Regions from separate parts of the Homo sapiens genome. Here regions 1, 2 and 4 are each linked to region 3. The links are contacts of gene promoters, found by promoter capture Hi-C in human tissues and cell types (Jung and others, 2019). All regions are on one chromosome and are shown on one strand. The core of a region is centred on a gene start or on the middle of the fragment in contact, and the rest is flanking DNA. Distances in the headings are between cores, read along the strand shown.

Region 1 (2,700 bases), core at 145-2,644, 410 kb before region 3:
GGAGCTTGCAGTGAGCGGAGATCGCGCCACTGCACTCCAGCCTGGGCGACAGCAAGACTCCATCTCAAAAAAAAAAAAAAAAAAAAAAAGGACAATTTAGGGAGAAAATCAGACATTTGACTATGAAGCAGGTGTTAGATATTAAAGAATTCTCCCTAATTTTCCAGTTACAATATGGTGTAAACCAAAAAGCATCTGAGGCAGCTCTCAATCAAGTCAGAGGTTTATTTTGCCAGAGCCCAGGAAAAAGAAACACAAAACCACAGGAACAGTCTGTGATCTGTGCTTTTTCCAAAGAGAGCAAGATTTGGGGACTTCAATATATACACATATTTTATGAGACAGAGTCTTGCCCTGTTGCCCAGGCTGGAGTGCAGTGGCACGATCTTGGCTCACTGCAGCCTCTGCCTCCCAGGTTCGTCACGCAATCGTCTCGCTCAGCAAATTGTGCTTTCATAAGCTACAGCAGACAAGCGCAGCTGCCTGTGGAGGCCTGTGGCCTTCTACCTGCAGCTGTTTGCTCAGAAACAAAAAGGCGGTTTCTTGAATGAGTCAGTTTCCAGCTTAATTTTTCCCTTTGGCCTAGTGAATTTGGGGGCCCTGAAATTGTATTTTTCTTTCACAATGGTATTGTGGTTGTGTAAGAAAATGTCTTTTTTGGCTGGGCGCATTGGCTCACACCTGTAATACCAGCACTTTGGGAGGTCAAAGCAAGAGGATCACCTGAGGTCAGGAGTTTGAGATCAGCCTAGCCAACATGTTGAAACCCCGCCTCTACTAAAAATACAAAAAATTAGCTGGGCATGGTAGCGGGCACCTGTAATCCCAGGTACTTGGGAGGCTGAGGCAGGAGAATTGCTTGAACCCGGGAGACAGAAGTTGCAGTGAGCTGAGATCGCGCCACTGCACTCCAGCCTGGGCGACAAGAGCGAAACTCCGCCTCAAAAAATAAATAAACAAAAGTCTTTTTAAAAAAGTTTAACCTGGCCAGGCATGGTGGCTCACACCTGTAATCCCAGCACTTTGGGAGGCCGAGGCGAGCGGATCACGAGGTCAGGAGTTCAAGACCAACCAGCCTGGCCAACATGGTGAAACCCTGTCTGTACTAATAATAGAAAAATTAGCTGGGCATGGTGGCACAGGCCTGTAGTCCCAGCTACTCAGGAGGCGGAGGCAGGAGAATTGATCGTACCGGGGAGGCAGAGGTTGCAGTGAGTCAAGATCACATGCCACTGCACTCCAGCCTAGGTGACGGAGGGAGACTCAGTCTCAAAAAAAAAAAAAAGGAAAGAAGTTTAACGTGTTTTTAGGGTCAAAATGTCTCAACATCTGGGATTTGTTTTAAAATTCTTTCAGAAACTCAAAAAGGCCAGGTGCGCTGGCTCATGCCTGTAATCCCAGCACTTTGGGAGGCCAAGGCGGGCGGATCACTTGAGGTCAGGAGTCTGAGACCAGCCTGGCCAACATGGCGAAATCCCGTCTCTACTAAAAATAATTAGCCGGGCGTGGTGGTGGGCGCCTGTAACCCAAGCTACTCGGGAGGCTGAGGCAAGAGAATCGCTTGAACCTAGGAGGTAGACGTTACAGTGAGCCAAGATTGCGCCACTGCACTCCAGCCTAGGCGACAGAGTAAGAGACTCTGTCTCAAATTAAAAAAAAAAAAAGGATGAACAGTGCTAACACCTGGTCAGCCCAGGCAGCAGGCCCGGGGGCTCAGTGTCCTGCTTCCCAGCTCGGGCTCCAGGTGTGTGAACTGTTCCAGGCAAGCCTGCCTGCTTCGGGACAGCACCTCTACCTCTGGCTGGGAGCTCTGCCTGGCCCTCAACTTGCATCCAGAAGGCGAAGCATGGGGAACCATGAGGCCACAGTCGAGGGCCAAGTGTTTGGGGTGGTGGCAGGGGTTGTGGCCTCCTGGGGACCCTCCCAGTCCCCAGTGACCCTCAGCACCAGGCTGGCCAGGCCCACGGGCGAGGAGGAAAATGCACGGCCCGTGCTCCTCGCAGCCGCACCCAGTGTGAGCACGGCTGAGCAGCTCTGCGGGAGTGGTGGCCCCGTGGTCACAGGGACAGGATCACAAACCAGGATCTTCCAACAGGCTGGGATCTGACCACTTCCCCGGCCCTCACCCCCAGCACCCCCTCCAGCTGCGCATGCACATACGTGTAGGTGCACACACACGTGCACACCCTCCTACACCACCCAGCCAGTCCCCACAGCAGGCAGCCAGGATGGAGGCAGCACCTTTCCGCCTGTGTCTCACCGTGGGACTGGGCTTAGGCTGACTTGGTACAGCCAGTCCCCAGGACGGGCTGGGCCTCTGGCCAGGGTCGGGAGGCAGAGGCACCGCCCCAACTGAGCTCTCAGAGCTGGGTAGTGCCCCTTCTTGTTCTCCTGCCCCTCAGTGGGTGGCTGGTCCTGCTGGGTGCCTGGGTCCAGCACAGCTGTCACAGGCCAGGCCACCAGCCAAGGTGGGAAGAACAGGGTGAAGACGGCAGAGCCCCTGGGAGAGCTTCCTGGGACCCGATCTTCAGCTTGTGGGCAGCACGCACCCCACCTGGCTCTTGCCCTGCAGGCTGCCCAGCTTTATCACTGGTGGGGTCATTGGTGGGGCAGCCCCTCCTGGGGCCCAGCACCACAGTGCCCTCTGTCCCCAGGCCTGCCCAGCTCTTTGTAGGGTCCTGGAACGCCCCTTCTCTGACC
Region 2 (2,700 bases), core at 145-2,644, 490 kb before region 3:
GAGACAGAGGCAGGAGAATCGTATGAACTCGGGAGGCAGAAGTTGCAGTGAGCCGAGATAAAGCCGTTGCACTCAAACCTGGGGTACAAGAGCGAGACTTCTCTCAAAGGAAAAAGAAAAAAAAAAAGACAGAAGAGAACCTGTTCTGTCTAACTGCCTTTTGCTTGAGTGCAGGGAAGGCAGCCTCCCTTCATACTCATGCCCCAGCCCTGCAAATGTCACAGCAGGACCCACCTGGCTGCCCCTCCCCATACCCAGAGTAACCCTCACCCAGAGTCCCTGGAGGACCCAACCCTCGGGGGCATGCCTGGGGCCCAGCTGCATTCAGGCATCCAGCAACCCAGCCAGAGGGCTGGGGCTCCCCAACCATGGCCGGGAGGTAAGGGCTGAACCCAAGGCCAAATCAGAGCATCAGGAAGGTGAAGAGAGATCTGGGAGGGGCTAGGGAGAGGATGGATCTCTTCCCCATTCACTTCCTGGCCCACCCAGACTGGCCCCAGGGGTGCAGCTGACAGGCCCCACCCTTGGGAACTGCACCCTCCTGACTGGTGTCCTGCAGGCACCCTGAGGCCATCACCCTGGACCCCTGCCCTACATAGGCCTTACAAGGAGGAGCCAGGGTGGACACCCAGACCTCATTGAAAGTAGGAGTGTTCTCAAGGTCCCAGACCTTACTCAGGGACCCCAGTCGGGGGGTGGGGCAGTGGGAGGCAGAGCCCCTTGCTAGGAGCTTCTAGCCAGGCCCACCTTTTCAGATATGCCAGTGAGCAGCCCCAGCTTCGTTCTCCAAGATAAAGACCCTAGTTACCTCCATTGCTCAGCCTCCCTTGCAGCTAAGTGTAGCCATGTGACTAAGTTCTAGATCAAGTTCCAGATCACAGATAAGTGGAAGTGCCCTGTGGGACTTCCAGGAAGTCTCCTCTGGGATGTCCCTTATTCTCTGCTAAGAACACAGAGGCAATGGCTGAGTTCCAGCAGCCACTGTGAGGCCATGAAGGCAGGGATCCTAGGGACTGGGATCTGAGAGCCTGGCTCCCAATGGCAGTGGAGCAATGCCATCATCTCTAGCAAGGCCGTCTCTAGCCTGCCAGCCCCTGGACCTGCTTAGTGTTCGAGAGTAATGAACAACCTTGCTGAAGCCACTGTTCCTTAGGTGTCTGTGGCCTGCAGCTGAACTTGACTCCGATTCGTAGGCCCGCAACTGGAGGGCCTCTACCTCGAGGGAGTGGGGTGTAGATTTTTCCTGGAGGTGAAGGTTCTCAGCCCTACCCTCTAGCCCGCCCACCCAGCTCCAGCCGTCTGTTTCTGTCTCAGATGAGAGGGGGCCTCTCAGGACAAAGAGGAAGTAGCTGGAAGGGGAAGGAGCCAGCTGCAGAGAGGAGGAGGTGAGCTGCAGAGAAGAGGAGGTTGGTGTGGAGCACAGGCAGCACCGAGCCTGCCCCGTGAGCTGAGGGCCTGCAGTCTGCGGCTGGAATCAGGATAGACACCAAGGCAGGACCCCCAGAGGTATGTGCCAATGAGGCCAGGGCAGCTGAGAAAAGCCAGGCATGGGGAAAGGGCTGCTGTCTGCCTCCCTATGGCCTCAGCCTCCCAGCAACCCCAGGTCCAGAGAGTCACACAGCCTCCAGCTAGTCCTGTAGATGACTCGCTCCGTCCCCAGTCCGTGCAGCTGGGATAAGCTGGGCCCTGGCTCTCCAGCCAGGTGACAGCTGGGCCCTCTACCTCAGCCTGGGACTGGCAGCCATGCCTAATGCCCTGCAGGGCAGGAAATCTGGCACCTTCAGCCATGACCTCTGATGTCTGCAGGGTCTTACGCTATCTACCATGGGACCAGGGGGCTACAGCCCTACTCTGCAGGGGTCTCTCAGCTTGAGCCAACCTGGCTGGCGGTCCTCCCAGGTTCCATTGCAGGAGGAGGTGGTGAGGCGCTCTGGGGTCTGTAGTCCTGGGAGGGGACTTGGACAGGCTCCAAGTCTGAGATGGGGCCTGCAAGAGGCAGCGCCTCTGTGCTCTGAGCTGCCCGTCTGCCTGGAGCATTTAAGGGAGCAAAGGTCCTCTCTGGTGAGGGCAGGGAGTGTGGGGAGCAGCTGTCCAAGAACAGCCCTGGCACCTCGTTGCCCAGCCACAGCCCAGGATTCCATGTTTCCTCTCATTGACCAGCCACAGCCCAGGATTCCATGTTTCCTCTTCTGAGAGTTAGTGGGGGAGAGCAAAGGCCCGATGCTGGGCCCTGAATCCCTGGGGACAGTGGGGACACGGTGGGCACCCTGAGGTCTCCTCTGTGGGGTGGGGGGAGCATCCCCCAGAGTTCAGCTCTGGGGTGGGGGCGGCACCCACCCACCTCTGCAGGACCCCCCAGCGTGGGGGGAGTTGGGCCGCAGTGACTTGGCCTGAGTCCCCTGTCCCCACACTTGGTTTATGCTCCTACCCCCAATCCCCCATAACGCTTGGTCTCCAGGGCAGACTCAGTCCAGGCCCGACTCCTGTGGTGTTCCTGGCATTTCCGCCCCATGCTGAGGCAGGCCAGGTTCTCAAAGCCCTCAGCCCTGACCCGTGGGAGGACAGCCCAGACGAACCCCAGAGGCCTGGAGGCTGAGCTGGCTGCTCCTGGGTGGACAGCCGACCCACCGAGCCCTGGGTCCCAGCGCCCAGCCTGGCTGCAGACACTGGCACTCAGCACTGCCCAGGCCCAGGCCCCAA
Region 3 (2,764 bases), core at 209-2,708:
TTCCTTCTGGAGAGACGCTGCCTGTCTGTCATTGCCCCTCTCCTGCACCTGGCCGCTGGCTGGCTGCTCTTCCCTCCCAATCACCAGCAAGCCAGCTCCTGTTCCCTGCAGCCCAGCCCGCAGGATGTGTCCTGGGACCCATAGCCCTCTCTCCCCAGAGACAGCACCGCCCTGCAGCTCGGGTTCCTGGCCCTGTGCTAACCCTGGTGGGGCTTTCCTTACTGGTCTGCTCTGCAGCCATGACATTGTGGCCACCGCTCTCCTTGGGACCCCCACCTGGCTTTCCTCCCAGCACATGCTGTTTCCTACCCACCTGGATGGTGTCCTGTGTGCTGGATTCCCCATGCTGTGTCCCCAGCATCCTGACCATGTCTGTCCCGCCTGCCTAGATCTTGCACCGTGGCCACGGGGCTCCCTCCTGATAGCCCTGAACGCTCCGCTCCATGTCCTACAGAGAGGGATGTCCCAAGTAGATGTCAGCTCCCTCCAGCATCTGAGCAGGCAGGACAGAGACCCACGGTGCTGCTCACATCAGCAGCCTGGAACCCCGAGACAGCTCCTTTTGCTCACCTCCCCCAACACTGATGTTGCACCTGTCTCCAAGCCACTCTGGGACCATCTGTTTCTCTCCATCTGGGAAGCCCCCTTCGCACCTCATGCTCTTCCTGGCTGGGGCGTCTGGGTCACTCACTGGACTCTCCTCTCCTTAGACCTGTGCACAAGCACACACGGGAAGGCATCCTGACAGGTGGTGGGAAGAGAAGGCAGCTGCCTCACTGCGGAAAGAGCACGGCCGCTCCTGGACTCCAGCCCTGTTGGGGCTGGCGGGGTCAGCAGGCGCTGGGTTCCAGCCTCAGGTGGGGTCTTTGGAGGTGGCCTCTGGGCACAGGCACCTCCTCTGCGGCCTTCTCACCAGGTCACGGTTCAGGGAGGCTTTGCCGGCTACGGAGCCTGCCCACACCAAGGCGCGCACGACCACCTGTCCAGAGATGCCACGCGGGCTGGGCGGCGAAGGCCAAGGACACGCCCTGCCTGGTGTCGGGGGCAAAGGTTAGGCCTGGAAGGGAGGTGTGGGGTGGGGACCCCGAGGCCAGGGCTGGGCCGCTGAGCTTCAGGGCCCTTGGGGGGCTCAGGGAGGAATGCCGGAGGACCCCAGCATCAGGAGGAACCCCTGGAGAGCTACGGCAGGACTCACCTGTGGGGCACAGGGAGGGATCACCAGGGAAATGGCCCTTGTGGAGGATCTCCCCTCTACCCCCAGGGCACCAGGGGAGGATCTACCAGGGGGTTCTGGTGGAAGGGCCCACCCGGGAAGCGGCGCGCGGGGAGGACTCGGGGGCGCCGAGAGGAACTGTCCGGGAAGGGGCGCGCGGGCCGCGGGCGGCGCGGGGTCGGTAACGGCCCGTGCGGTGGGCGGCGGCGCCCGAGGCCCCTCCCCGCCGCCCGCGGCCGCTCCTCCTCTTCCTCTCCCGCCCGCGCCGCGGCCCTCCCGTCCCTGCGCGGCCTCGGCGGCCTCGGCGGCGGCGGCGGCGGCGGCGGCGGCAGCAGCGCGGCCCCTTTAAACGCCTGCGGCGCCCCCCGCCCCCGCCATCGCGCCTCCATTTTCCCGGCCGCCCGCGCCGAGCGCCGCGCCCGCCCCGGGCCCCTCCGCCGCCGCCGGCCCGGACATGGCCGCCAACATGTACAGGGTCGGAGGTAAGGCCGCACCGCCTTTATGCCCGGCCCCGACCCGCCCGCAGCCCCCACCCGCCGCCGCTGCCGCCTCCCCCGCCCCTCTGCCCCGCAGGCCCCGCGCCCCCCGCCCGCCCTCGCGGCCCCCGGCTCCTTCCCGAACCGCCCCCCGCCGTGCTCACCCCAACCCAAAATGGCCCCGCGGGTCGGCCCCATCGGGGGCGGGCGGGGCTCGGCGGCCCGGGGGTGGGGGGCGGCCCACCTGTTGGGGCCGAGGGGGCGGCCGCGGGGGTGGCGGGGGGGCGCGGGGCCTGCGGGACATCCGGGGGTCCGGGGCCGGGAGCCCCCAGCGGGAGCACGTGGCCTTGGGAGGCGCCGGCTGCCGGTCTGGGAGCAGGAGTTTTGGGGCTGTGGGGTCTCCCCCGGCCCGCGGCCCTGTGCTGGGACTCCGGTGCATCCCCTCTGGGGATGGGGAGCCCCGGTGAGGGGCCACGTTCCTCCCTAGAGCCCTCCTGCAGCCTGGCCCCGGGGCTTCCCCCAGCAGGGATCCCTCAGGGGGTCTTCAGCAGGGAGCGAGCATCCCGAGCACGCCTCTAAGTCCCCCCAAACTTTTCCCTGCCTCTCGCTCACCTCAGCCCATTCGGGAGGCGCTTTGCAAGGGTTGGGGAGAGGCCGGAGGGCCTCCTGGGCAGGGGCTTCCTCCGTGGGCCCAGCCTCCTGTTGCTCGGGCCCCCCGGGCCTGCAGCTTTGAGCCTTGCCCTCCTTCGTGTGCCTGGGACTCCGTGGGGTCTTTCACAGGAAGGTGGGGGGTCGTGTGCATTCCATCATTCCATCAGCGCCTCCCTCCCCAGGACTCTGAGACCCCTCCCTGCCTGTGACCCTCTCGGGCAGGTGCTCATTACCTTTCCCACCTGCAGCCTGCGCTGCTGGAGGGAGCTGGGGTCACTCCCGCTCTGGCTTGATCCCCATGCCCCTGACCCCGAGTGCCCAGAACACTCTGTGTCTCTCGAGCGTGGCTTCTGCTGCCTTGGACGCCGTGTGGTCTGGCCGGCCAGTCCTGTGACCTTGGGGACGGTGGGAGCCCCCTACATCC
Region 4 (2,827 bases), core at 72-2,571, 300 kb before region 3:
AAATGTGCTCTTGTAATGTAAACAATCTTTTTGATATCTGGGATTATTTTCTTCTTGTTGTATATTTCAACTTTCTCTTCTTTTTTTTAAAAAAATAAGCGTGACTCTCAGGGGATGTCTGCACGGGAACCCATGTCTCTGCTGCCCCACAAACACAGCAAGAGCCGCGAGCACGCGAATGCATGGCCAAGTTGGGAGGTCAGAAGGAGGGATGGGACCAAAGGAGGGAGTGTGTGTTTTTTTTTGTTTGTTTTGGTTTTTTTGAGACGGAGTCTCGCTCTGTCGCCCAGGCTGGAGGGCAGTGGTGCGATCTTGGCTCACTGCAAGCTCCGCCTCCCGGGTTCACGCCATTCTCCTGCCTCAGCCTCCCGAGTAGCTGGGACTACAGGTGCCCACTGCCACGCCTGGCTAATTTTTGTGTTTTTAGTAGAGACGGAGTTTCACCATGTTGGCCAGGATGGTCTCCATCTCCTGACCTCGTGATCTGCCTGCCTAGGCCTACCAAAGTGCTGGGATTACAGGCATGAGCCAACACGCCCGGCCAGGGAGTGTGTTTAAGAAGTCACGTGGCACACGGGGTGGAAGCAGAGGTAGATGGTCCGCCTGGGTGCTGAAGGCCCTTTCAGAACACAAAGAGAAATTAGGAGAATGGGCAGTGCAGGTTTTTGGGAAAAGAGCTGGTTTTTGTTGAAAAAGCAGAGGAAACCCCAGACATTGCATGGGTTTAGGCCTTAGCCTCACCACTGTCGAGAGCCTCCTGCCCAGGAGGGCCAAATTCTAACCTCCAATCTGCTTGGTGAGGACCTTAAGATCCTTTCCACCCTGGCAAGCCACCTGCCAGGGTGAGCTGAGAAATCAGCCAGGGGAGCAGAGTCACTTATGGCCAAGAGGAATTGTTCTGGGGTTTGGTTAGTAAGCAGGAGAAAGAGGAGAAGAAAACTGCGTATGGGGGTTGAATGCCTCTAGCAGAAGAAGGTGAGGCATAGAGGCCTCTTACCACTAGGGAACATATTGGAGTCACGCAGCAAAGTATGTTAACAGCAGAAGTTACCCAAGTCACAGAGCACCAACATATGCTATTGGTGGCAGGAATCCGAGCTACCGGTGGTGAGTCTGTAGGGGTCTGCAGCAACCTCAATTCTTGCCTCCTCAGAAGAAAGAATTTGACTGTGGGGCACAAGGCAGAAGGAGAGACCGAGGCCAGTTTCAGAGCAGAGGCAAAGGTTCATTAAAAAGTTTTAGAGCAGGAAGGAAAGGAAGGAAAGTGCACTTGGAAGAGGGCCAGGCGGGCGACGTGGAGGGCAAGTGCCTCTTTTCTCTCCTTGATTGGGTTTTCTCATTGCTTTTCTATTTTATTTTGATTTCATCCCCAAATAATTAGCTCCTAGACTTACTTATTTGTTCTAACCAACCTGAGTCCGTTCATTTTTGCTTCTGTCTTTACGATCTGACCCTTTGGGATGTGGTCGCCCATCATCCCCATGGCAGGCAGGGAGCCGTTTTGACAGCAGCATCTCCCTCTCTCACTCCCACCTGTGGAGGACAGCCTCGGGACTGGCCCAAATGCCAGCATTTGCTCTCCTGCCTATTTCCCAGGCCGTGGTGAGGGGCTTTTCCTCAGGGTCTTCATGGGGAGAGTCAGGGGATGAGTGCCTCTCTCCTCACTTTGCACTCCTTCCTCTATGTCATGCCAAGGCACTTCAGCGGCTCAGCCTCCAATGATGGAGGTGACTCTGGAGCTCAGGCTTCAATCAACCAACGAAGAAAAATGTTAGAGACACTTCCAGCTTTTTCTTTTTTTTTTTTTTTTTTTGAGATGGAGTCTTGCTCTGTCGCCCAGGCTGGAGTGCAGTGGCGCAATCTCCACTCACTGCAAGCTCCACCTCCCGGGTTCACACCATTCTCCTGGCTCAGCCTCCTGTGTAGCTGGGGCTACAGGTGCCCGCCACCATGCCCGGCTAATTTTTTGTATATTTAGTAGAGACAGGGTTTCACTGTGTTAGCCACGATGGTCTCAATCTCCTGACCTCGTGATCCGCCTACCTCGGACTCCCAAAGTGCTGGGATTACAGGCATGAGCCCCCACGCCCGGCCACTTCCAGCTTCTTGAACTAAAAATATTGAATTCAGAATCTCTTGTAAATGCACACAGCTCAACAGACTCTAATCTTTAAGTTTGTGCTTCCCTCCCAGGTCTAGTGTTTGCAGAAGCCACCCACCCCCACACACACACCCCCAGTCTTCTAACAATATAAATGACAAATCTTGCAAACCTTTTGATGTGTAAGCCTTCTTTTCCCAAATTAGGTTTGTGCTGATACCCCTGGGACATGCCGGGATCTGATTGTAATTGCAGGTTTGGAAGTGGTGAGGTTGGTAGTGGTGGAGTGGGATGGAAATCAGCACCTGCTTGCAAAGTAACCACATCAGGTGAGGTCACAGAGAGGTCTTCAAACAATGCAGGACCAGACCCATCAAACAGGGGCTACTTCTCTTGGTGTGATTGTCAGGGTATGCAGCTCATCGCCCCCCTCCTGATTCTGGGGTCCAACACCTTCCCAGTCCATGCCCTGATTCTCACAGAAGAGACCTGAGGGAGGGTGAAAGTCCGGTCTACATTGGCATTCAGCAAACCTCCCAATAATGCCCTGAGGCTGACCTGAGGGCACACCAGACTCAACAGCCTTAAGAGAGAAGAGATTCTTTCAGTGATGATGGAAACCTTGTTCTCTGACCAGGCCTTGAGCTCAGCATTTGAAAAGCCCAACTGTGTCATCTTGTTTCCTGAGACTCTCCAGTGCAGCTCAGAGCAGCCACCTCAGCCCAC

The links. The method cuts DNA at HindIII sites, captures the fragments that hold promoters and counts their contacts. A contact is called where the count stands out against the background at its distance.
Region 1: a fragment that was not itself captured here is called in contact with the fragment with the promoter of MTA1 in region 3 in 1 of the 25 tissues and cell types used here (mesendoderm cells).
Region 2: the fragment with the promoter of PLD4 here is called in contact with the fragment with the promoter of MTA1 in region 3 in 3 of the 25 tissues and cell types used here (H1 embryonic stem cells, heart right ventricle and neural progenitor cells).
Region 4: a fragment that was not itself captured here is called in contact with the fragment with the promoter of MTA1 in region 3 in 1 of the 25 tissues and cell types used here (lymphoblastoid cells).

What each region holds. Positions count from the first base shown.
Region 1 is chr14:105,003,771-105,006,470 of GRCh38, forward strand. No RefSeq gene overlaps it. Among named protein-coding and RNA genes, the nearest start is that of CDCA4, 16 kb to the right of the region's middle. The HindIII fragment of the contact is 8,903 bases long and covers 1-2,700 here.
Region 2 is chr14:104,923,485-104,926,184 of GRCh38, forward strand. It overlaps PLD4 (phospholipase D family member 4), which reads left to right and starts at 1,395. Exons shown (of 11, transcript NM_138790.5): 1 at 1,395-1,506. RefSeq lists enhancers at 1,568-1,737, 1,720-2,229. The HindIII fragment of the contact is 18,191 bases long and covers 1-2,700 here.
Region 3 is chr14:105,418,369-105,421,132 of GRCh38, forward strand. It overlaps MTA1 (metastasis associated 1), which reads left to right and starts at 1,459. Exons shown (of 21, transcript NM_004689.4): 1 at 1,459-1,695. The coding sequence starts at 1,668. It overlaps MTA1-DT (MTA1 divergent transcript), which reads right to left and starts at 1,371. Exons shown (of 2, transcript NR_125385.1): 1 at 654-1,371. RefSeq lists an enhancer at 1-325 and silencers at 1,023-1,122, 1,153-1,202, 1,293-1,552. The HindIII fragment of the contact is 32,458 bases long and covers 1-2,764 here.
Region 4 is chr14:105,114,583-105,117,409 of GRCh38, forward strand. No RefSeq gene overlaps it. Among named protein-coding and RNA genes, the nearest start is that of LINC02298, 22 kb to the left of the region's middle. The HindIII fragment of the contact is 7,874 bases long and covers 1-2,827 here.